7 separate regions of the Homo sapiens genome follow, and regions 2, 3, 4, 5, 6 and 7 are each linked to region 1. Evidence: promoter capture Hi-C in 16 types of primary human blood cells and fetal thymus (Javierre and others, 2016). All regions are on one chromosome and are shown on one strand. Each heading gives the region's core, a stretch centred on a gene start or on the middle of the fragment in contact. The rest is flanking DNA. Distances are from core to core; before and after follow the strand shown.

Region 1 (3,057 bases), core at 240-2,739:
TGACCTCAGGTGATCCGCCCACCTTGGCCTCCCAAAGTGCTAGGATTACAGGCGTGAGCCACCACGCCTGGCTGCCTACACAACTTTAAATGGTGAAAGCTAGACTCCCATGATGGCACTGTGATTTCATAACTTTTGCTCTTAACCTCTAGATAAGTCACACACGATCCAACCCTTGTTGGTATAATATTGTAAACATCAGAGCCGGGTGTGGTGGCTCACACCTGTAATCCTATCACTTTGGGAGACTGAGGCGGGCGGATCACGAGGTCAGGGATTCGAGACCAGCCTGGCCAACATAGTAAAACCCCGTCTCTACTAAAAATACAAAAATTAGCTGGGCGTGGTGGCGGGCGCTTGTAGTCCCAGCTACTCGGGAGGCTGAGCCAGGAGAATCGCTTGAACCCGGGAGGCGGAGGTTGCGGTGAGCCGAGATTTCGCCACTGCACTCCAGTCTAGGCGACAGAGCGAGACTCCGTCTCAAAAAAAAAAAAAAAAAAAAAACAAAAAAAACCCATAATGTTGACTATATATATATATATATATATATATATATAGTCAACATTATTTCATGATTAAGTGATGGAGTACCGAAATGAGTTAGAAAAACCTGATATGCCTCGTTTGTCTGTGACATTGTGTTTTGCTAGTGAGGATCCATGGCGTCTGAAAATGAGATAGCGTCCCTTCTTAAAAATTGAAAGTTGTTAAACACTTTTGTTAAGTTCTGTTTTGAGTTTCTCACAAATAATGAGGACTTAGTTCTAATTCTAAGCGCTAAGCCCTGTGGTGATGTGATTTCCTTGCTAGGCTCATGCACTAATATATCACACTAGGATCACCTCCCACAAGTTCTCACAGACTGTAGACAACTTATTTCAAGACATGAATGATCTTTACTTTCCATTCTCCCTTTTCTTCTGTAGATTACCATGGCTGTTTTCACTCTAACAGATTTTCAACTGTTTTTGTAATCAATAATGTAAGTTTAATTCTTCCCCCCTCCCTCCAAATAACTTCATGAACTGGAGGCACATGTGCGCCCATATTTTCCGCTCTGTTTTCCTTTGTTGGTCCTCCACAGATAGTGCCCTCTGTTGGATGGGCCGGTTCATTTTAGCTTCCACCTTCCCTTAAAACAATTAGAAGCTCTTAATTTAGATGGTACTGATGTTAATGATGATGATTTTCCATTTTATGCAAGTTTTGGCCCTCTGCTTGTCTAAAAGCCTTGAGGCAAAGAGTTATATGCAGTTTCTCTGCGGGTGTCTGATTACGTGGAGAAATTGACCAGAAATGGGATTTTTAAAATACAGCACACGCCTCGGTGCGGCTTCCAGTAAGCGCCACCAGGTGACGGTGCGGGGAAAGGGAAAAAAAAAAAAAAAAAAGGCATGCCGGAAGTCTCTCTTGACAGACAGACGCGCGGGCGAGTAGCGGAAGAGGAAGCGGACACGTGGGACACTCTACGGTGGCCGAGAGGATGCCGCAGATGTGTTAGCGGCGAGTCCAGAAGCAGCCCCAGGAGGTGCTGGGGGCATCGTTTCTCTAATCTGGCCTCCCGAGTGCCAAGGAGGCGTCCCGGCAGCGGTCATCATGGTGAAGGAGCAGTTCCGGGAGACGGATGTGGCCAAGAAAATGTAAGACGGAGTAAGAGTGGCCAAAGGGCTGAGAAATAGGGCAAGGGGTCCGAGGTCAGCGGTCCCGGGTCTTGCAGGGTCAGAGATGGGGTGCAATGGGAAGGGGAGGGCCAGTAGTCCATAGGTGTGACCAGCGCCCAGAACTACCAGCGTTGGTCAAAGAGCATTGGTCAGGCTGAGGGGATTTCAGCACCTCGAGAGGTCCCTGGACTTGGGCGGAGAAGTCGGAGTGGCCTGAGCCTTAATGATTTGTGCACCCTGGGCCAAAGCTCGCATTCTCCTGAAGTCATACAATGATCCCTGTTCTTCAGCGAACTATCCCCTGCTGCAGCGAGGGGAGCAATCTGGGGCGGGGACTGTCTCTAATTCTGTCAGCCGCAGAGCGTCTGACACGGAGGCAGTAGTTGCTTACCAAAAGGATGGGGTTGCCCACTAGAAAGCTGTACCACAGGCCGACGGATGGCAGTGTCAGAAATAAAGCTGCTATCCGGACTTTTGCCTTCAGAAATACGTTATTAGGCGGTGGCTCCTTCTTAGAGTTCTCGGTAAGAAAGTGAATCCAGCCGGGCGCGGTGGCTTACTCCTGTAATCCCAGCACTTTAGGAGGCCGAAGCGGGTGAATCTCCTGAGCTCAGGAGTTTGAGACTAGCCTGGGCAACGTGGCGAAACCCCGTCTCTATCAAAAATACAAAAATTAGCAGGCGTGGTGGCGCGCCCTTGTGGTCCCAGCTACTCGGGAGGCTGAGGCCGAAAAATCACTTGAGCCTGGGAGGCAGAGGTTGCAGTGGGCAACCTCCTGCATTCCACCCTGAGTGACAGAGTGAGACGGTGTCTCAAAAAAAAAAGTGAATTCATCATTCTTACAGCAGACACTGAGGAGGATACTGCGCGTTATTCCCAGTGTTGGACGTTAAAGATACGGTCTGAATAAAACTTTTACTGCCTAATCTAGTTGGAGAAGGTACACAAGTCAACACTGGGTACGACAAGTGCAATGACAAGGGTAGGTCCAGGGGGTTTTGAGAGCACATAATGGGTCCAGGCAAAAGAAAGCAGACCAAACTGCTTTTTTCAAGGAGCAGACCTGAGGGAGAGAACACAGGTGATCAGAAGGAAGCAGAAGACTTGAAGCTGTGTTAAGAAGTCATCTTGTAGGCAGTGAGGAACCTTTGAAGGATTTTCAACAGGAGAGTATCTTGATAAGAGTTCTCCTTCTGGAAAATCTCTTGATTCATGGTGGAAAGAATTAGAGGTCGAGAGACCTTGAGACGGATATACAGAATGCCTTGCTTGGGCAGCTGTGTGGATGGTTGCCATTCACTAGAACAGGTGTCTTACCTAGGTGAATGCAGCATTCTCCCATGTGGTAGCTCTACATCGACACTGGCCCTTCACACCCACCTGTACACCTGCGCCC
Region 2 (3,057 bases), core at 186-2,685, 1.4 Mb before region 1:
CTGATGACACATGGAACTTTCACACTGGCACTAGAGGCCTATTTCCAGGTTGTTTTTATATTAGAAAAAAACTTCTGTATTGTTTAAGATATAATGAGTTTGAGGTTTTCTCCGATATGCAAATGGACCTATTTATAATTGATAGGGGAGTTGTAGTAGGCCCCTTCAAAAGATATCCACATCAAATTCCTGGAACCTCTCTGTCTGTCCTCAAATCCCTGGAAAGCTTCTTTGCACATATAATTAAGTTAAGGCTCTTAAGGTGAGATCATCCTGGATTATCTGGGTGGGCCCTAAACCCAATGACAAATGTCCTTTTAAAAGATACGCAAAAGAGAACAGACATACAGAGGAAGAGGTGACGTGGCCACAGAGGCAGACTGATGAGGTCACAAGCTTGCATGTCAAGGAATGTCAACAGCCACCAAGAAGCTAGAAGGGACAAGGAATGGATTCTCCTGTGGAGCTTCTGCTGGGCAGCCCTGCCGACACCTTGGTTTCCATTTGTTATAGCAGCTACAGAACACCAATACAGGATTCACCAACGCAAAGGTCATTGGAACAATGAAACTGGATAAGGTACCTCTGAGAGATTTCAGTATCCTGAAGAACCAACATTTAAGGCTTGGAAGAACAAGGCCTGCAAAGGATATTGCCAGGCAGTGGTCAGAGAGGAGGAACTGTGTTAGTCTGTTTGCATTGCTATAAAGTAACACTAGGGACTGGGTAATTTGTAAAGAAAAGAGGTTTATTTGACTCACAGTTCTGCAGGCTGTACGTGAAGCATAGGGCCAGCATCTGCTTCTGGTGGAGACTCAGGAAGCTCATAATTGTGGCAGAAGGCAAATGGGAGCCAGTGTGTCACACGGCAAGAGAGAGAACAAGAGGGAGCAAGAGATGGGGGAAGGTGCTAGGCTCTTTTAAAACATGAGATCTCACATAATGAGAACTCACTCATTACCACAAGGATGGGACACAGCCATTTATAAGGGATTCACTCCCATGATCCAAACACCTTGCCCCAGGCCCTGCCTCCAACATTGGGGATTATATTTCAACATGCAATTTGGAGGGGACAAACATTCAAACTGTATCAGAGGCCAAGGCAGTTCCAGGCTGAGTGAACAGCAGTGTCAAATACTGCTCAGGTCAGAGCTGGTGTGGCCAGTGAACTGGGAAATTTAACATCAGAGGGGGCAATCTTGACTTTCCTCAAAGCATTCTCAGTGGAGTGGTAGGAGTAGGAGTGAGGTCCAGAAGATTTGGGGATGAGTGAGTGGCTGAGATGGGAAAACAGCAAGTGTAGAAAACTCATACAAGTTTGGTTGTGAAGTGACAGAAAGAGTAGCTAGAGAAGTGGAAGGATTTTCCTTAGCTGGTAGAGATCCAGGGATGCTCCATTGCTTATGAGGGGACAGGAAAGAGGGGAGGGTTGAAGATATGGGATGAATGACAGGGAAGAAAGCATTCCCAAACACAGAGGAGGTCCCCCAAAATGGATCCTGATACAGGTAAGTGGAAAGGTTTGTGGCAGAATGTTGAGAAACCATCCATTCAATGGCTTCTGTTTAGTCTCTGATATGAAAGACAAAGTCACCTGCCCAGATGGATGAAAAGATAGTGGGATAGAAAACTGGAAAAAAAACAAAAAAGGGAAAAAGGTTTGAAATAGCCTTTGAGAAGCATGAAGAGAGAGCTGGAGGCTTGCTGAACTCTGCTGAGAGCCAGTGGAAGCTGGAGACTGATAATTTAATGCCCCCAGCCTGTGTGATTGTGCAAGGTTCTCCAGCAGCCCTTGACAGCCAAGGCCAGTATGGAGAAGGCAGAGAACGGATGAATCTACACTGGACATTTTCCAGGCAAGTGGGGTGGCTCCTCTAGCCCAGGCCAATGGGACTAATGGGATGCTGACAAAAGAAATTGACAAAATGTACCAAGACATGTAGGGTAAATAAGAAAAATAATTATTTTTAAATAGAAGTAAGAGGAGTTGGAAGGACTGGAGTTATGATCAAAGAGATATGTTTGCATTTTTCAGTGTCAGAGGTGGGGCGGTTCTGCGTGTGGCCAGGAGTACTTTGAGGACTGGAGTACAGTGGAAGTAACAGTCCCTAGAGATGAGGTAGTTAAGGAACGAAGAGGGCAAAATGGTGATAAGTCATCATATAATTTATTGTCCACTTTTGAAAGTGAAAGGAAGCATTATTAATTGATCATTCACCCCAGAATAACAGGCATGAGTCTGGACTGTCCTGAGCAAACCAAGACATATGGTAATCCTAATGCTTAGCCATTCGGGCTGATTGCAAGCCTCAAGGTGGAGAAAATGACAGTGCCCTCGTGTAAAACTATAAGGGACTGACGGGGCTTGCAGGCAGTTGAGTGCAGAGTGTGGGAAGTGGCGTGGCCAATGGCAAGAGGCTGGCCAAGCAGGGATTCTACAAGAGGGTGGGGGAGCTTTGGTGGGAAGCTTTGCTGGGGCAGGTGGAGGACAGAGGTCCCATCTCCACATCTCCTGGAGGTTGTTAATCTGCAGAATGAGAGTTGCTCAACCTCATGCATGTGTCACACTTTTTCCTACTTTCCCAAGCACTTTTATTTTTCCTAGCCTCCTAACTTTCTTGAGCGTTATCTACTGTGCTTCCCATTTTCAGAAACTGAAACCAAGGCGGAGGATAGTTTAGGTGATGACCCAAGGCAAACTGAGGAAACTCCAGAAGCAGAGCTGCCAGACAAAATACAGGACACCCAGTTAAAATGTAATTTCAGATAAACAACAAATAACATTTTTTTGTATAAGAATCTCCCAAATATTGCATGGGACACATTTCTACCAAAAAAAGTTATCCGTTGTTTATCTGAAATTCAAATTTAGCTGGGCATCCTTGTTTTTGATTTGTTGTTGTTGTTTTGCTAAATCTGGCAATCCAAAAAGAAAGGGGGCAGGCCAGAATGGCTGAATAAATCAGAGAGCCTTGTTAGTAGCCTCGGAGGCTGGGAGGGCAGGGACAGGCTCAGGTGCTCTCAGCTATGCTCAGGTGTAGCTGAGAGAAGACT
Region 3 (3,057 bases), core at 212-2,711, 1.4 Mb before region 1:
GACATGGTTTTGGGATCCTGGGAAAAGAGGGTAGTAGTCATTTTAAGTACAGCATGAGATTATCAGTGATTTTTTTTCCTATTAGTTTTTCCTATTTTCCAACTTTTTTTATAATGTGGCATTACTTTTATTTTACGTTTGTAATGGAAATGGAATCCTGGAAACTCTGGAAATGCATGTAGTGTTCCCCTCCAGATGTTGGAAACTGACGTGTGGTTGGGTGGGGCTGGGTCCCTTCAGGACCAGTGGGAGGCCAAAATGTGCTGTCATTCATTACATTCCCAAACCCTGCTCAGAAACGGCCACACCATGCTTCAGGTTCTTGCCGCTTAGAGTACGGCCCTGGCAGAGATGCATCAGTGCCTCCAGGGAGCTATTACAATTGCAGGCTCTCAGAGCAGCATCTTAGCAAGGTCCCCAGGTGATCTGTGTGCCCCCATCCCAGACTCTGCATACATAGTGGGAGCTGACCCACTGACGACTTTCCTGCAGACCCCACATCTCCAGTGGGTCCTGTCCTCCCCCTCAATATACACAGTAAGCAGGAGGCTATTGGCTCCCAGCAGAGAGTGAGTACCCTCAGCCCCCCTGGGGTTCTCTGGATAGAATGAGGGGCAAACAGGCAACTGAGGATCTAGTTGGTCCTTAAGGGCATGCTCATGGCCTGTGCAGTCCATAGCCTGTTGCACTTTGTCCAGCTGAGCCCCAGCACAGGGGCCCCCAGCTCATGTGCACACAGCCATCCACAGCAGCCCTCCCTCATCCCCTGCCTACAGCCTGGGAAGTGGGCAGAGCCAGACTGAGCTCCGTTAAGGAGACAGGCACTGTGCTGAGTGCTCTCCAAGCAGTATTTCATTTAATGAAACTACTCTATGTGTTAAGTGCTCTATTTGCCTCATTTTCCATGGGGAAACAGATGCTTCGAGGGAGGAAGGGACTCACACAGGATTATTGAGCTATCAATGGAAGAGCTGGGATTTTAATCCAGGCAGGCAGGTGACACTCAGACATCAACAGGGGCTCTGGAGCCCCGAGGAGGTATGCTTACTCTGGGCTGGTAGCCTGGGAATGCTACCAGGAGAAGGGCTTTGGAGAAGGGTGGCAGGGCCTCCCCCAGGGTGACCAATATCCAAAGGCAATGGATGTGAGCCAGAGGCCCGGGGATAGCAGAGGGTGTGTGTGTGTGTGTGTGTGTGTGTGGTGTGTGTGTGTGAGTGTATGTGCACATGCATGCACCATCCTCTCTCCTGACAGGGCCAGCGCTCTTCTAAATGCTGGGGCAGAAGGTCCCTGGCACCTTCCAGCACAGTGCTAACGTGGGATCTTCCTTCATAGAGATCATCATCTCATATTGGACTCTTAACTCTACGGCAGAAGGAGGAGCAGAGGCCTCATTTTACAGTCTTGGGGAGGTGGAGAGGGCAGAATGTATACGAGATCCCCAGTCTCAGGATTTCTGTATTCTTTGCCTCCTTAAGCTCCTTGTCACTCCAAGCTAAGACCTGCATGGTCTGTGGGGCCTCAGTTTCTCACTCAAGCTGATTGAGGCCTTCTCCTGGCTCCATTCCAAACTTGATTCTGTCCTGGACTCGTGAAGGCCCAAGCACCTTCTTCCTCCCTTCATGAGTGGTGGGAGGACAGACAGAGGCTCGCAGCATCAGTTTCGTCGCCTGTCCCATGAGGCTAAGGAGAGCACTGACACCCAGGGTATTGTGAGGACATAGTGAAACTATGCATGGAAGGTGCTTAGCACAGTGCCTGGACACAGGAAGTGCTTAGTAAATGTTGGCTAGCATTTTTTTCTCCTTTGGGTCACTATGAAGAGTGCACCCATCTGGCAAGGCACTAGGTATTTGGGCAGGCTAGAACCTGATTGGATGCTGTCTACCCCTCACCTGGCCATAGCTCCAGGGGCAGGTGCTGGGCTGGATTCATCTCTGTGCTCCTCACCATCTGACCACGCCAGCTCAAGGGACCTCACACGCAGCGGTGCTCAGTGCAAGGCTCCCTGAAGGGAGGAACGGGTTGACAGGGCTTTTATAAACCACAGAAAGAAACCTGTGTCACAAATGAAATAGTGTGTTAGAACCTAATTTCTATAATATTTAAAAGTAGAAGGATTTTCTTGGGAACAGCTTTATGAGATACAATTCACTTCCCATATAATTCCCATTTGAAGTGTACAATTCAGTGATTTTCGTATATGCCTGGAGTTGTGCAGCTGTCACCTCAATCAGAGAACATTGTCATCACCTTGAAAAGGAATTTCATACTCCTTAGGTATCACCTCTTTTTTTTATTTTTTTGAGACAGAGTCTAGCTCTGTTGCCCAGGCTGGAGTGCAGTGGCATCATCTTGGCTCACTGCAACCTCCACCTCCTGTGCTCAAGTGATTCTCATGCCTCAGCCTCCCGAGTAGCTGGGAATCCAGGTGCTGCCATCATGCCCGGCTAATTTTTCTGTTTTTAATACAGATGGGGTTTCACCATGTTGGCCAGGCTGGTCTCAAACTCCTGGTCTAAGTGATCCACCTGCCTCAGCCTCCCAAAGTGCTGGGATTACAGGCATGAGCCACCTCTCCTGGCCCAGATGTCACCTCTTGATCATCCATCCCCTCGCATCCATAACCACTCATCTATTTCTCTCTCTGTAGATCTGTCTATTCTGGACATTTCATATAACTAGAATCATGTAACATGTGGTCTTTTATGACTGGCTTCTTTCACTTAGCATAATATTTTCATGGTTCATCCATGTTATAGTGTGTTAGGAAGTGTTCCTTCCTGTTATATTTTCTGGAAGAGTTTGTAAAGTATCAGCAGTAATTATTTTCCAGATGTTTGATAGAATTCACCTGCGATGCCGTCTGCGCCCGGGCTTTCTTTTGTGGGTAGATTTTTGATGACTGCTCTGAACTCTTTACTCATTATAGAGTATTCTGATTTTTTTTTATTTCTTTTTGACTCAGTTACTACAGTTTGCATCTTCCTAGGCATTTTTCCATTTTATCTAATTTGTCTAATTTGTTGGCATACAGTTATCCATAGTATTCTTTTA
Region 4 (3,057 bases), core at 322-2,821, 1.3 Mb before region 1:
ATGACTCTTAACGATGCATATTTATGGGACACAGTATGATGTTTTGATACATGCGTACATTGCGTAATGATCAAATCAGGGTGATAAGCTTATTCATCACCTCAAACATTTATCATTTCTTTGTAGTGAGAACACTGAAAACCCTCTCTTCCAGTTATTTTGAAATATGCAATACAATGTCCTTAGCTACAGTCATGCTACTGTGCAAGAAAAGACCAGAACTGATTCCTCCTATCTAACTGTAATTTGGTACCTGTTGGCCAATCTCCCCCATCCCGCCTTCCTTCCCCAGCACATAGTAACCACTATTATACTCTCTACTTCTATGACATCAGCTTTTTAAAGTCCGCAAATGAGTGAGATCATGTGGCATTTGTCTTTCTATTTTTTCTATTTGTCTTCCTATTCTTGTTATCTTTGATCACATCCTTGTGATCTTCCAGGCCTCAGTCCCAATGTATCAAACTCAGGCATTGGGCTCCATCTCGAATCCTTCGCTCTGACAAGCTCCCAAGTCGATTATTCCATGTTGAGTTGATAGAGCCTACAGGCTGCCCTGGGGTCATCAATACAATTTATTAGGCTAGTGCTAGAAAGGGGCATGGGGGACCACACAGCTCTCTTGGGCATGGGGTCCAGTAAGCACTTGCACAATTGTGGGGAGGAACAGTCTGAGATTCTCCTGCTTAGACCTGGGAGGGCCTGGTCGGGGAGACTGAAACTGAGAAGAAGGCTGAGGCCAGACCCGCCTTCCTCCTCTGGCGCTCTCTGAGGGCACCTGGCCTGGCTGCTTTCTCTTGGGAGGGGAATGTGGGTATCCCACCACACTTCAGGCTGGAGTTCTTAGAGCCTGTTCTGGTTCCAAAAACTGTCTGATCCATGAATCACTCTTTGCTCAATTAAACTGTTAAATTTAACTTGTCTAAGGTTATTCCTTTTAATAGATTCAACTTGAAACATAAAGATACAAATAACTTAAAAGTAAAAAAGTGAAGAGTTCCACTTCTTGGAGGCAATGTGAAGAGTTCCATGAGCCCACTTGCCTGTGAAACAAGCAATGTTGGTGAAAACTGCTTTTTAAAAATTAACCTTTAAAGTCTCTGGAAATTGTCCTAAGGATATAGAGCAAATGAAGAAAGTCAGGCTCCCACTCTGCCTTGGGGCATCTCCTCGGCCTGGCTCACCTTTGAGCTCATCTCCCGGCCAGGAGCAAAAGCAGCCCTTGACCATAACAGTAATCATGACTATAAAGATAGTATGTGGGGACGTCACTAAAACTAACTCAATAAGAACAGCAGGTCTATGGCATTTGACACATAACTATTCCCTTTTCCTTCACCTTCAGCTCAGCTTAATGGAATCTTCTCATAAGGTGAGGGTGGCCAAAAAGACAAGGCTCCCTCTCCCCTCACTTCCCAATCAAGTATTTTCACATATTAGTGGGAGAGGCAGACCAATAACATTTTGCCCATCTCTCCCAACTCCAAGTTAAAGAAGCTAAATTCTGGATGAGTGCAGCTGAGAAGTGGGGGGTTTCTTTCTACACCCAGCCCTAACCCATAGAATAGTGGCTCCATCCCAGATTCAGAAGGCCAAAAACACTGGGACCCCAAATCTTGCTCCAGCTCACTCATAGAGCACAGGTTCTATGCTAGGAGAGGAAAGCCAAGAATATCAGAGGCTACCACCCTGCCCAGTCCCCAGAATACTGGCTCATCAGAAAGAGAAACAATCCATAAGAGAAAGATATCCAAATCTCTCCACAAAGGAACTTTTATTTTATTTTATTTTTGAAATAGTGTGTGGAAGCCTAAAGTGCTTTTGAAAACAAAAAATAAATTGGACTTCATCCAAATTTAAAATTTTTGTGCTTCAAGGGACACCATCAAGACAGTGAAGAAACACCCTACATAATGAGAGAATGTATATGAAAATCACATATCTGATAAGGAACTTGTATTTAGAATATATAAAGAGTTCTGGCAACTCAAAAGTACAAACACAAATAGCCCAGTTAAAAAAGTCAAAGGATCTGAACAGACTCATCTCCAAGGAAAATATACAACTGACCAATAAGTACATGAGAAGATGCTCAACCTCATTAATCATCAGAGAAATGCAAGTCAGAAATAAATGAAGTAGCACTTCACACTCACTAGGATGGCAAGAATAAAAAAAGATAATATCAAGTGTTGATGAGGATGTGGAGAAACTGGAACCCTCATACATTGTTGGTGGAAATGTAAAGTGTCACAGCCATTTTGGAAAACAGTTTGGCAATTCCTAAAAAAGTTAAACCTAATCATTTGATTCAGCAATATATACATAATACGTAAGGTGGTATAATACTATTTGCAGTTAGTCTTTGATAAGTTAAACAATATATAGTAAATCCTAGGGAAACCACTAAAAATATAGACTGAATAATTAGGCTGAGCATGGTGGCTCACATTTGTAATTCCAACACTTTGAGAGGCTAAGGCAAGAGGATTTCTTCAGGCTAGAAGTTCAAGATGGCAGTGAACTATGATTGTGCTACTGCCTGGGTTACAGAGTGAGACCCCAGCTCTTAAATATATATTTATATATATAACATATATTTATATATATAAATATATATTATATATATGTATATATAGCTGTGACATTTTACATTTCCACCAACAATGTATGAGGGTTCGTTTCTCCACATCCTCATCAACACTTGTCATTTTATACATATATATAAACAAATAGCCAATAATGGTGATAAAAATGAAATCAATTTGGAGAAAAACCTCAATCCAAAAAAAGGCAAGCAGAGAACAAAAGGCAGATGGGACAAACAAAATAAATAGCAAGATGGTTGGTTTAAATTTAACTATATTGAGAATTACATTAAATATAAGTGATAAACATTTAATTGAATGGCAGAGATTGTCAGATTTGATAAGAAAGCAATGCTCAATGCACCATTATCAGTCCATTGTCTCTTAGTTCTAAGTCCTCCCTACATTGTCCTGTTTGTAATACTGTAACTGTTCTCCCTTGCCATCTGGAATTATATGAAGCTTTATC
Region 5 (3,057 bases), core at 383-2,882, 1.3 Mb before region 1:
GTGGGCACAGTGATCAGAGAGAGACCCACAAGGGGAAGATGGGGCGAAGCTCTCCTCTGGAGTCCAGCTGGTCTTTTACTCGTGTGATCTGGATCACTGCGGGCCACTGAGAGCGGAGCCAGTGTGGTAGGGTGGAGCTCAGTAGGGTGTGGCTCACCCTCAGCTGCTGGGCTCTCACACAACCTGCCTGGCCACAGCCCCCTGCAACTCACAACTCAGCAGAGCTTGCCTTCTGGGAGTATCTGCAAGATAATCCATGTTTGTTGTTTGAAGCCACTAAGTGTTGGGTCATTTGCCATGTGCAGTGGATAACTCATACCCATAGTACCCCACCCCAGCCAGGACTCCTGGAAGATCCCATTGCTCCATGCACAGCCAGTCCTGGATCTGCTGTCTCAGCAAGCTTGGTCACCAGCTCTTGGCAAGGACCTCACGGGCATGGTCAGGGAGAACTGGTCCAAGAGACAGGACTTCCTTGTCTTTGTAAAGACGTGGAATGGGCTGGTTATTTCTGTCTCATGCCTCTGAGGGAGACTGATTGAAGCTTGGGAGAGTGGAGGAGCTGGGAGAGAGTCCTCAGCGGGAGGGCCTGAGGGTCTGGCCATGGCATCCTGTTGGCCTCTGGGAAGGGGACGGGGCCTCACTTAATACCTCCGTGCTGGGCTCCGCACTTTGTAGATGTCATTCTGAGCCTCAGGGTGACCCTGCAAAGTGGAGCTTGTTGTCCCTGTCTTACAAATAAAGGAATGGAGGCCAAGAGAGATTAATGATGTGCCCAAGGTCACACTAGGGCCAAGTGGAGAGTGGAATTCTTCCTGACTCACCTGGCTCTGTGTCTCCAGGGGCAGGTGGGCTCTGAGTGGTGCCTCTGAGCTGGCTTGTGCCAGACATCATCCCCTCCACGCAGCCGTTTTCTTCCAGCTAGCCTGACACTGTGCTTAGTGATTGAGATCTATGATCCTATGTAGTCCTCATGATAACTCTGCAAGGGAGGGTCTGTTGTCCCCACCTGATGGACACCAGATGGCTGAGCTGGATTTCAACCCAGGCCTGGCTGAATCCATATCTGCACTCTCTCCCACTGACTGGGTCTTCTCACCCTAGAGAATCTACCATTGGCTCAGCCCTGCAGGGCGACACCCAACAGTACAGCTGGGTAACATAGAAACACACACTGACTTCATTTACACAGTCCCTGCCCAGAGTCAATAGAAAAGTACCTGGTCAGCAGGACCCGCAAGGTTGCCAAGTCCAGTCCAGATTCGTCCTTGGTGCATGCCCCATTGCCACCTTTATTTACTGTTTACTGATTTGCAGTGGCTTTTCTCAATGCATCATTATCCTCAGGAGAGGATCCCACTGCCAGTTGTCTAGGAGTGGGGCCCAAGACTTTGCCAAGCCTAAAATGCTGCTCAGTCAGACTTCACCTGAGCTCTGGGCTCTCTGCCTTGTGGGTGCAAGGAAGCAAGCAGCCTCCAATTCTGCAGTTTCCCTTTTTGGTCTGTTGTTTTGGTCTGTGCAATTTTCATGAATCTACTGACTTGACCCTCTTAACCTCCACTGACTAACTCACATTGATACCTTTCCTTGCTCCATTAGAATAAATCTCCTTCTGGTCAACAATGCTTACCTTGTGATCCATATTGTCCACCTTCTGATCAGTATGGTCCACCCTTGATGACAAGTATTTGTCTTTTCTTCAAATGAAGATAAGCACCATGGTGAAACCCCCTCTCTACTAAAAAATACAAAAATTAGGCCGGGCGCAGTGGCTCATGCCTGTAATCCCAGCACTTTGGGAGGCCTTGGCGGGCAGATCACCTGAGGTCGGGAGTTCGAGACCAGCCTGACCAACATGAAGAAACCCCATCTCTACTAAAAATACAAAATTAGCCGGGCATGGTGGTGCATGCCTGTAATCCCAGCTACTCGGGAGGCTGAGGCAAGAGAATCGCTTGAACCCGGGAGGTGGAGGTTGCAGTGAGCCAAGATCACGCCACTGCACTGCAGCCTGGGCGACAGAGCGAGACTCTGTCTCAAAAAAAAAAAAAAAGTAACTGGGCGTCATGGTGGGTGCCTGTAATCCCAGCTACTCGGGAGGCTGAGGCAGGAAGAATTGCTTGAACCCAGGAGGCAGAGGTTGCAGTGAGCTGAGATCGAGCTACTGCACTCCAGCCTGGGTGACAGAGCGAGACTCTGTCTCAAAAAAAAAAAAAGAAGAAGAAGAAGAAGATAAGCACTATGGTAATAAGAATAGCTACCTTTTGCTGCACTTAATACACTGCACATGGTAAGGATTTATAACATTATTTCTTAATCCCCACATGGCCCTTGAGAACAAGTACTAGTATTAACTACTTTTTATAAATAGGGCCTCCAAAGTGGGCAGAAGTCATAAGCCATCCAAGGTTACCTGGGTCTTCCCTTGTGTTAAGTGAGTAGTGGAACAGCCTGTATTTGGCCTTGCTCTGCTTAATCCCAGAACTTGGCTCCTGCCTCTAATGCTATCTTTGCTACTGTTGAATTTTAGTACAAAAGATCAGCAGGTCAGGCTGAGAGAGGCCTCAATTTATGTGACAAAGATCTCAGATTGTAGATGAGCAGAAAGGCTCAAACAGTTGACCAACTAGCAGCCTATGTTCCTAGGACAGAGGGTCCGTATCACAGGCCCTGGGGCTGGGTGAGTCCAGGCATATCTCGGGATCACAGCGGAAGCTTCAGCTCCATGGGGACAGGCCCAGCCCATTCAGCAGAGAATCAAGGAGCAGGGGACCCTGCGAATCAAGGGTGTTCGGAGAAGATCTAACTAAAGCTGGTCACAGTAGAAGTGTGGTGGGGTGGACACAATGCCATCTCTAGAGAGTTGAGGGCTGCACTGGGGCAGAGGCCACAGTGGGGCTTCATAGGCCTGACCAGGATGAGCAGGAGCCAGATTTGGGTTCATTTAGACAGAAAGCTTCCTACCAGTCAGCAATATTGCAGAATGATACTTTGAAGTAAGAAGCTCCTCATGGCTGAAGCTGTGCGAGAGATACCAAGCAGGGATGCCACAGAAGA
Region 6 (3,057 bases), core at 235-2,734, 1.3 Mb before region 1:
CAACCTGAAGGATAGCACCCCATATCCTTCACACTGATGAGGTATTGCCTCCCAGTTGGTACCTCAGCTGTGTCTTTAAGAGGCAACTCTATCCCCTATAGACTGGCAGATTCTAGATGTTGTGAAATGTGTAAGGACCAGTGGATTTCACAGTCGTGTGCCCACTGCCATGCAGCAATCATGGTGACTCAGCTCTCTTAGTCTGCAATGATGTCAACTGAGGGCCTATGTCAGTGAATCAGACTCTTGGTGAGCCATAGTGCCAATGGCCTGAGGCTCCATTGGAAGGAGAAGTGAATTCATACCTAGAATATGCATCCATCCTGTCTGGGCAAATCACTGCCCTTCCCATGAGGGAAGGGGTCCTACATAATCAACTTGTCACCAAGTGGCTAGTTGGTTTCATCCTGGAATGTTATTGTATCACGGGCTCAGCTTGGGTCTCTGTTGATGACAGGTTGGGCATTCAGCAGTGACAGTAGCTAGATCAGCCTTGGGGAGAGGAAGCCAAGGCTGTTAGGGTTATATATAACTTCGTCATTGTCACCATGGCACTCTGTTCATGAGCCCATATGGTGCAAGGACTGGTTGGAGGATGACGAGTGAGGACAGAGACTGGCTGACGTCCACTGGCCGAGTCATCCTGCCCACTTGGTTGTTTGGTGTTGCTTCTGCAATGGATGCTCTTTGGTGAGTATTGAAATGTGATACGTTATCTTCGTACTTTTTGCCACTCTCAGAGATCCACAGGCCTCTTTCCCAGTCCTTTTTGTCTCTGATAGTCCAGACTTGTTTTTCCCAGGCCCCTGACCAATAAAGAGCTAAGCCATTCACCACTGCCCATGAATACGAGTATATCCTTATTTCAGGTCTCTTCTCTTGCCGTGAGATGACCAGGTGCTTTGGCAAAATCTCTGCCTATTGGAGGGATTTTCTCTCACCAACATCTTTCAGGGCCACCCTTGGATGGCACTGTAGTGCAGGCTCAGTCCATTTTTGGCTTACACCCACAGGCCAAGTCAACCCATCTGTGACCCAAACTCAAGAATTTCCCTTCTCTGTCAGCTGGTCATAATAAACATTTTTTGTGAGAGGCATTGGTATGACAGTCCTCATCCCAAGTCTTGGTGTCTCCTTCCCTACCAGGGGCCTGATTTGGATATAGGAGACCTCCCTTGATGGAGAATTCAGCCTTTACTCAAGTTCTGCTGCTTTTCCAATGAGTCCTCTGCCTGATTGTCACTCCATCTGCCCTCTGGCTGCAGAAGGTAAGCGCTTTCCAATGCTTCCTGCCAAGAAGTTTCCTCTGATGCGCACACTCTAAATTGCCAGTTAAGATATTTGTAACTGTAATTTCCTTTCTTCAATGCATTGGTGACATTTAGTAATAGCCACATTTAGCAAGTCCATAGTCTTAATAGTTATTCTTTGCCCATATCTCTCAGATGCCGGATACATTGCTGTGGCTGTGTAGCTCCTTCACCTGTGTCCCATCCCAGTTCACCACAGGTGCACACTGCTACCCAATTCCTGCCACTAGTGGTGGGTCCTCATTGTCATCTGGTCAGTGGTACCTCTCCAGCATCCTATCCTCAGAGCCTGCCTCCCAGACCCATTCCCAGCACCCACTGTCTTCGATCTGGATAGGAGCAGAGCATAGGACAGGCATGCTGATTCCATGATTTATTGAGGGAGTGATCTTGGGAGAAACCTATGAGGGAGGCAGGCAGAACAAGGAAGGGGAGAGAGTGGAGTTAGCATGTGGCCTCAGGTAAAGTCTAGCCCTGACCTGACCCACAGGGAGGATTTGAGAGCACTGATCATGCCCCAGCCAAGAGGCCTTTTATTCCTTGTGGCAGTCAATTTTGGCTGTGCGCTGCCTGGCAGGGGTGCATGTGTGGGGATAGGGGGCAGGTAACCTGTCAGGCATGGAGGTTTCTGTGAGCTGAGGGAAATTCTCTGATAAAGGGGCACGTTCTGGGCTGTTGGCGGCCAACACCCGTAGCAGCGGCAGGATGGGTGGGCCAGTCGGTGAAGAAGATCCTGATGAAGCACCACAAGTACCTAGTTACCATAGGAACCTGCGGAGAAGACAAGGAAGGCACAGAGGGATGCCAGGAAAACTAAACAGATGAAAGAGGAAGTTGTCATGGATTCAAGTGTCTTCATCTCTTTTCTGTTGCTCTAACAGAATACTCGAGACTGAGTAATTTATAAAGAAAAGCAGTTTATTTAGCTCATGCTTCTGGAGGCTGGGAAGTTCAAGATTGGGTGGCTGCATCTGGTGAGGGCCTCATGATGCATTGTAGTATGGCAGAAGGCATCATGTGGCGAGGAGGGCAAGCGCGTGCCAAGTTGGCTTTTATAAGAGACCTACTCCCATGATAACCCATGAATCTGCCAACTCATTAATCCATCAATCCATTCATGAAGGCAGAGCCCTTATGACCCAAGGGCCTGCCTCTTAGTACTGTTACACCGGGGATTAAGTTTCACCATGAGTTGTGGTGGGGGGGACAAGCATTCAAACCATAGCACCAAGAGAAGAGAGCTTCAAGGAAGAAATGGCAACTGTCAAGTGCAGCTGTGAGGTCCAGTCTCAGAAAGCAGCGTGGATCAGCAACGAAGAGGCCATTGGTGAGCTTGCAGGAGAAGTGTCAGAGAACTGGTGGGGCATGAACCAGGCATATGAAGGGTGACAGAGAAAGAGAGTGGGCACTGGCAGTTTTGTGGCTGAGAAGCCTGCATGGGAAGGAGCAGAGACTGGCCATCAAGGGGTGGAGCCCAGACCAAGCTGAACCTTGCAATGCCAGAGCCTGGGCCACTAAACCCGGGGAGGCGGGAGGCAGAGGTATGGGGAGGGTTAACGGGCTGATAGAATGAGACTCCTTGGAGAAGAGAAAGGGGTGATGGTGTCAGGGGCTGGGGGAGGGGTAGCCCCAACTGGGGAAGGGACACCACATCCTCTGGGCCTGGGTGGAAAAAGATATGGCCAGGGTGGATGGAGATAGGTCTGTGGGTAGCAGCAGGGACAGTGGGGAGCTGGGTGAGGGTAGG
Region 7 (3,057 bases), core at 405-2,904, 1.3 Mb before region 1:
ACAATGAAAGTGGCCTAGGAATTTTTCAAATATGCTACCAATGGGAGGAGCCGTTTTCATTCCTACCTGTCAACTAGAAAAAATGTGCTTCTCAAGCCTCTGAGACTTTCTTCATTTTTCTTCTGCCTTCCCTTCACCAGCCAGCAAACTTCTATCCATACTTCAAAGCCCAGCCTGCATACTCCCTTTAAGGACCCTCCTAAGCAGAACCAAGGACACTTTCCTCTGTTCCCTCAGCACTTTTTTCACGTATTTTATAGAGAGCTCTCTGCACTGCAGTCACAGTAGACAGTTTACATGTCTGTGCCAGCTCCACGGGCAATGATCGAGGTTTTGCTGAATGTGAGAAAATGAGCAAGGCCTGGGATAAGGCAGTGATGATTCCTGGCTCCTGTGCACCCGCTATGGCAGCATCTACACACACATTCATGAAAGGAACGCGGGGGGAGGGCTGAGTTATTTCTTCCCTTGCACTTGTAATAGCTGCTTTATTTGGGAGAAATAACCAATTTCCATTAAGGGTATTGTCAGACTCTAATTAATTTCCCTGATCCAGCCATACTGGTCCCGTCTCCGTGCAAGGCTGTAGTGTTACTGCTAATGAAATGCCAAGCCAGTGAGGAGCTGAAGCTCCCACCCTGTTTAATTTAGGGGAACCATTAACAGTGTTCTCCATCATCACAATTACTGGGGCCTACTTCCTTCCCTCCCTGCGGTGAAACTTAGGAACTTGTGCAGCTAACTGCATATTAGAGGGTGTTAAAACTTTTTCAGTAGGAAGGAGGAAAGGAAAAAATCCTTTGCATCTTGGCCATCTGGAACTGATGGTGCAGGGATTTATGGGTCTTTCAATTCTCCCCTTTCCTTCTTTTTTTGTTTTTAAAATGTTCTTGGGGCAACAAAGCCCTAACATAAACTGAGCTTTGGTGAAGCTATGCAAAACCGAGCTAAAAATGGCAGCTGTGGAGATGGTGTGATGTGGCTGGTTTTGATTGCCCCCTTCTTTCTTGTTTGGCCATGAATAAGCACTTAAGAATTTGATGGCACCTGGCTGAGGATCAGGGGAATAATGACTGGTCCATGGGCTCCCAGTGTGCCAGGCTTGGCGACAAGCACACCACTCCTGCCACTGTTGTCACTCCCCTTCTACAGATGAGGAAACCGAGGCACAAGGAGGGTAAGTAACTGGCCAGTTACCCAGCTAGAATATGGCCCAGCTGAAACTCAAGGCCCAGCAGCCTGGCTCCAGGGCCTGTTCCCCGACCTGCTATACTCAGGGGATGCCAGGGGCCCTCCCGCCCAGAAGCCTCTCTGTTGGGGTTCATAAATCCCGCACCTATAAGAAGGAGGAAGGCACCTCTCAATCTTGGAGGCTTCCCCAGCCCTAGCGAGTTTTGACTGTAATCAAATTAACAGCATAAACAAGATTTATTAGGCCTTTAATTACCTTTGCAACACTGATCTGCATAAGGACAATGTGCTAATCACAAATGGCTTTTTAAACCACTCATTAAAAATCTGGAAGAAGGAGGTTGAAAGACTTCACTGGCTTCAAGTCCAGGTCACTGCAGGGACTTGGAAGGTGCCCTACTTGCCCAGGCACTGGTCCTGGACCTTGCCAGGCCTCTCTGGCCACCTTCTCTTGTATAGTATCCTGGGTATCTGTGAGTATAGACGGCAGCCCCACTGCAGCCAGTGATGAGGACAAAACAGGGAGTGAGCCTACAGACGTCCACAAACTGAGGATAATTAGTATTCCTCGTCACCACCCTTACCCCCAGATATAGCTGCGGGGCTATGGCAGCCTGACCCTTTCCTGACATCCTGCTCATGCGGCACCATGTCCCCCATCAGCAGGGAACCACGAGGCCAAGAGGTCAAGGGTCTTGCTGGGAGGCACAGCATTTGTGTGGAAGAAAGCAGGCCCTGACTCACAGCCTCATGCCGCAGTGCCAAAGCTCTGCAGCCTGCAGCAGACATGATTGTGACACCCGAGCTCTCCAAATATGACAGTCACCAGGGACCCTCCAGGCGTCTGCCGTCCCTCGGGGCAGGGCGGGGCTGCAAGTGTCCAGGCTCCCTCATCCTCTCCCATTTGTTCGTCCTCAGAGCCTTCAGACAAAGACCCAGAGCCTTCAAACAGCCAGATACCTGCGGGCATCAAATCTCAACTGTCCCAGCTCACCCAAGCTCACCTCCAGCTCAATGTCGCCTTAATGAAAAGGCAAAAAGAGCTTCCTGCCTCCAAGCCATTCAATAAAATTATGGAGGATGACGGACTAAAACAGTTTGCTAATTGTGAAAGCGCTCAGCTTTCTCTTCCATTTTCTTTCCGTCTTGTTTGGGAAATTGCACTGAGGACTTATGAGGTGTTGGACCCCGTTGCAGTTTCCCTGGAAATGAGGGATTTATCCTTTGTGAAATTCCTAAAGGTTGCAAGGAGAGACTGTGTAACTTTCAATTGCCTAACCACAACGTGTCCTCAGAATAGCCTGGGGCTTGGAGAAGGAACACGGGCTATTAAATGGGAAAAAGGTGAGCTGTGGATCAGAACAGATGACCCTCTTCTAAAAAGACCCTCCAAATTGGGTTAACAACGAGATACCACCTCGTTGACCCTGAAGGACCAGCTAAATAGCACAGCCCTGTGCGCTGTTTAATATCTTCCTCTGCCCTTTACTGGCTGTGTGTTCTGGGGCAATTCACTTTCCTACTCTGGGCCCAATTTTCCTTCCAGTTCTGCCATTCAAAGTGTGGGATGTTGTCTAGCAGGCCCTCCACCTCCCTGTGCTCCCACGAGGAAGCCTCGCTCCACGGAACCGACTGGTTAGCCACCAGTACTCAGCGAGTCTTCCAGCCCACACAGCTTTCCTTTCTCTGACAGACCACTTATGGCCCAAAGAGTAAGTGCCAGCCTGGTCTTCAAGCTCTCAGACCACTGGCTTTGCATTCTAGGTCATTCTGCTGGACTTACAGAGAGCTGAGGCCATGGTGATGGAGGCAGCAGGGCACTGGGTGCTGGCCAGTGGCTCTTCGGCCCATAACATTTCTTGGGAA

Evidence for each region. Contacts are between HindIII fragments. The CHiCAGO score rates a contact against its expected background, and 5 or more counts as called.
Region 2: a contact is called between a fragment that was not itself captured here and the fragment with the promoter of POLR3A in region 1, in 1 of 17 cell types (neutrophils). The highest score is 5.0, in neutrophils.
Region 3: a contact is called between a fragment that was not itself captured here and the fragment with the promoter of POLR3A in region 1, in 1 of 17 cell types (activated CD4 T cells). The highest score is 5.4, in activated CD4 T cells.
Region 4: a fragment that was not itself captured here is called in contact with the fragment with the promoter of POLR3A in region 1 in 4 of 17 cell types (activated CD4 T cells, neutrophils, non-activated CD4 T cells and 1 more); the score reaches 7.4 in activated CD4 T cells.
Region 5: a contact is called between a fragment that was not itself captured here and the fragment with the promoter of POLR3A in region 1, in 6 of 17 cell types (naive CD8 T cells, non-activated CD4 T cells, total B cells and 3 more). The highest score is 10.8, in naive CD8 T cells.
Region 6: a contact is called between a fragment that was not itself captured here and the fragment with the promoter of POLR3A in region 1, in 7 of 17 cell types (total CD4 T cells, naive CD4 T cells, naive CD8 T cells and 4 more). The highest score is 20.0, in total CD4 T cells.
Region 7: a contact is called between a fragment that was not itself captured here and the fragment with the promoter of POLR3A in region 1, in 8 of 17 cell types (total B cells, naive B cells, naive CD4 T cells and 5 more). The highest score is 18.5, in total B cells.

Annotation. Positions count from the first base shown.
Region 1 is chr10:78,027,947-78,031,003 of GRCh38, reverse strand. It overlaps POLR3A (RNA polymerase III subunit A), which reads left to right and starts at 1,489. Exons shown (of 31, transcript NM_007055.4): 1 at 1,489-1,640. The coding sequence starts at 1,597. RefSeq lists an enhancer at 1,320-1,569. The HindIII fragment of the contact is 13,008 bases long and covers 1-3,057 here.
Region 2 is chr10:79,458,183-79,461,239 of GRCh38, reverse strand. No RefSeq gene overlaps it. Among named protein-coding and RNA genes, the nearest start is that of ZCCHC24, 14 kb to the right of the region's middle. The HindIII fragment of the contact is 2,074 bases long and covers 399-2,472 here.
Region 3 is chr10:79,428,830-79,431,886 of GRCh38, reverse strand. All of the region lies in intron 2 of ZCCHC24 (zinc finger CCHC-type containing 24), which reads left to right. Among named protein-coding and RNA genes, the nearest start is that of ZCCHC24, 15 kb to the left of the region's middle. The HindIII fragment of the contact is 8,422 bases long and covers 1-3,057 here.
Region 4 is chr10:79,370,724-79,373,780 of GRCh38, reverse strand. No RefSeq gene overlaps it. Among named protein-coding and RNA genes, the nearest start is that of PPIF, 25 kb to the right of the region's middle. The HindIII fragment of the contact is 2,962 bases long and covers 91-3,052 here.
Region 5 is chr10:79,340,527-79,343,583 of GRCh38, reverse strand. No RefSeq gene overlaps it. Among named protein-coding and RNA genes, the nearest start is that of PPIF, 5.4 kb to the left of the region's middle. The HindIII fragment of the contact is 2,171 bases long and covers 547-2,717 here.
Region 6 is chr10:79,318,475-79,321,531 of GRCh38, reverse strand. No RefSeq gene overlaps it. Among named protein-coding and RNA genes, the nearest start is that of PPIF, 27 kb to the left of the region's middle. RefSeq lists cis regulatory regions at 1-416, 1-431, 1-457 and an enhancer at 2,624-3,057. The HindIII fragment of the contact is 6,055 bases long and covers 1-3,057 here.
Region 7 is chr10:79,281,463-79,284,519 of GRCh38, reverse strand. All of the region lies in intron 8 of ZMIZ1 (zinc finger MIZ-type containing 1), which reads right to left. Among named protein-coding and RNA genes, the nearest start is that of PPIF, 64 kb to the left of the region's middle. The HindIII fragment of the contact is 3,710 bases long and covers 1-3,057 here.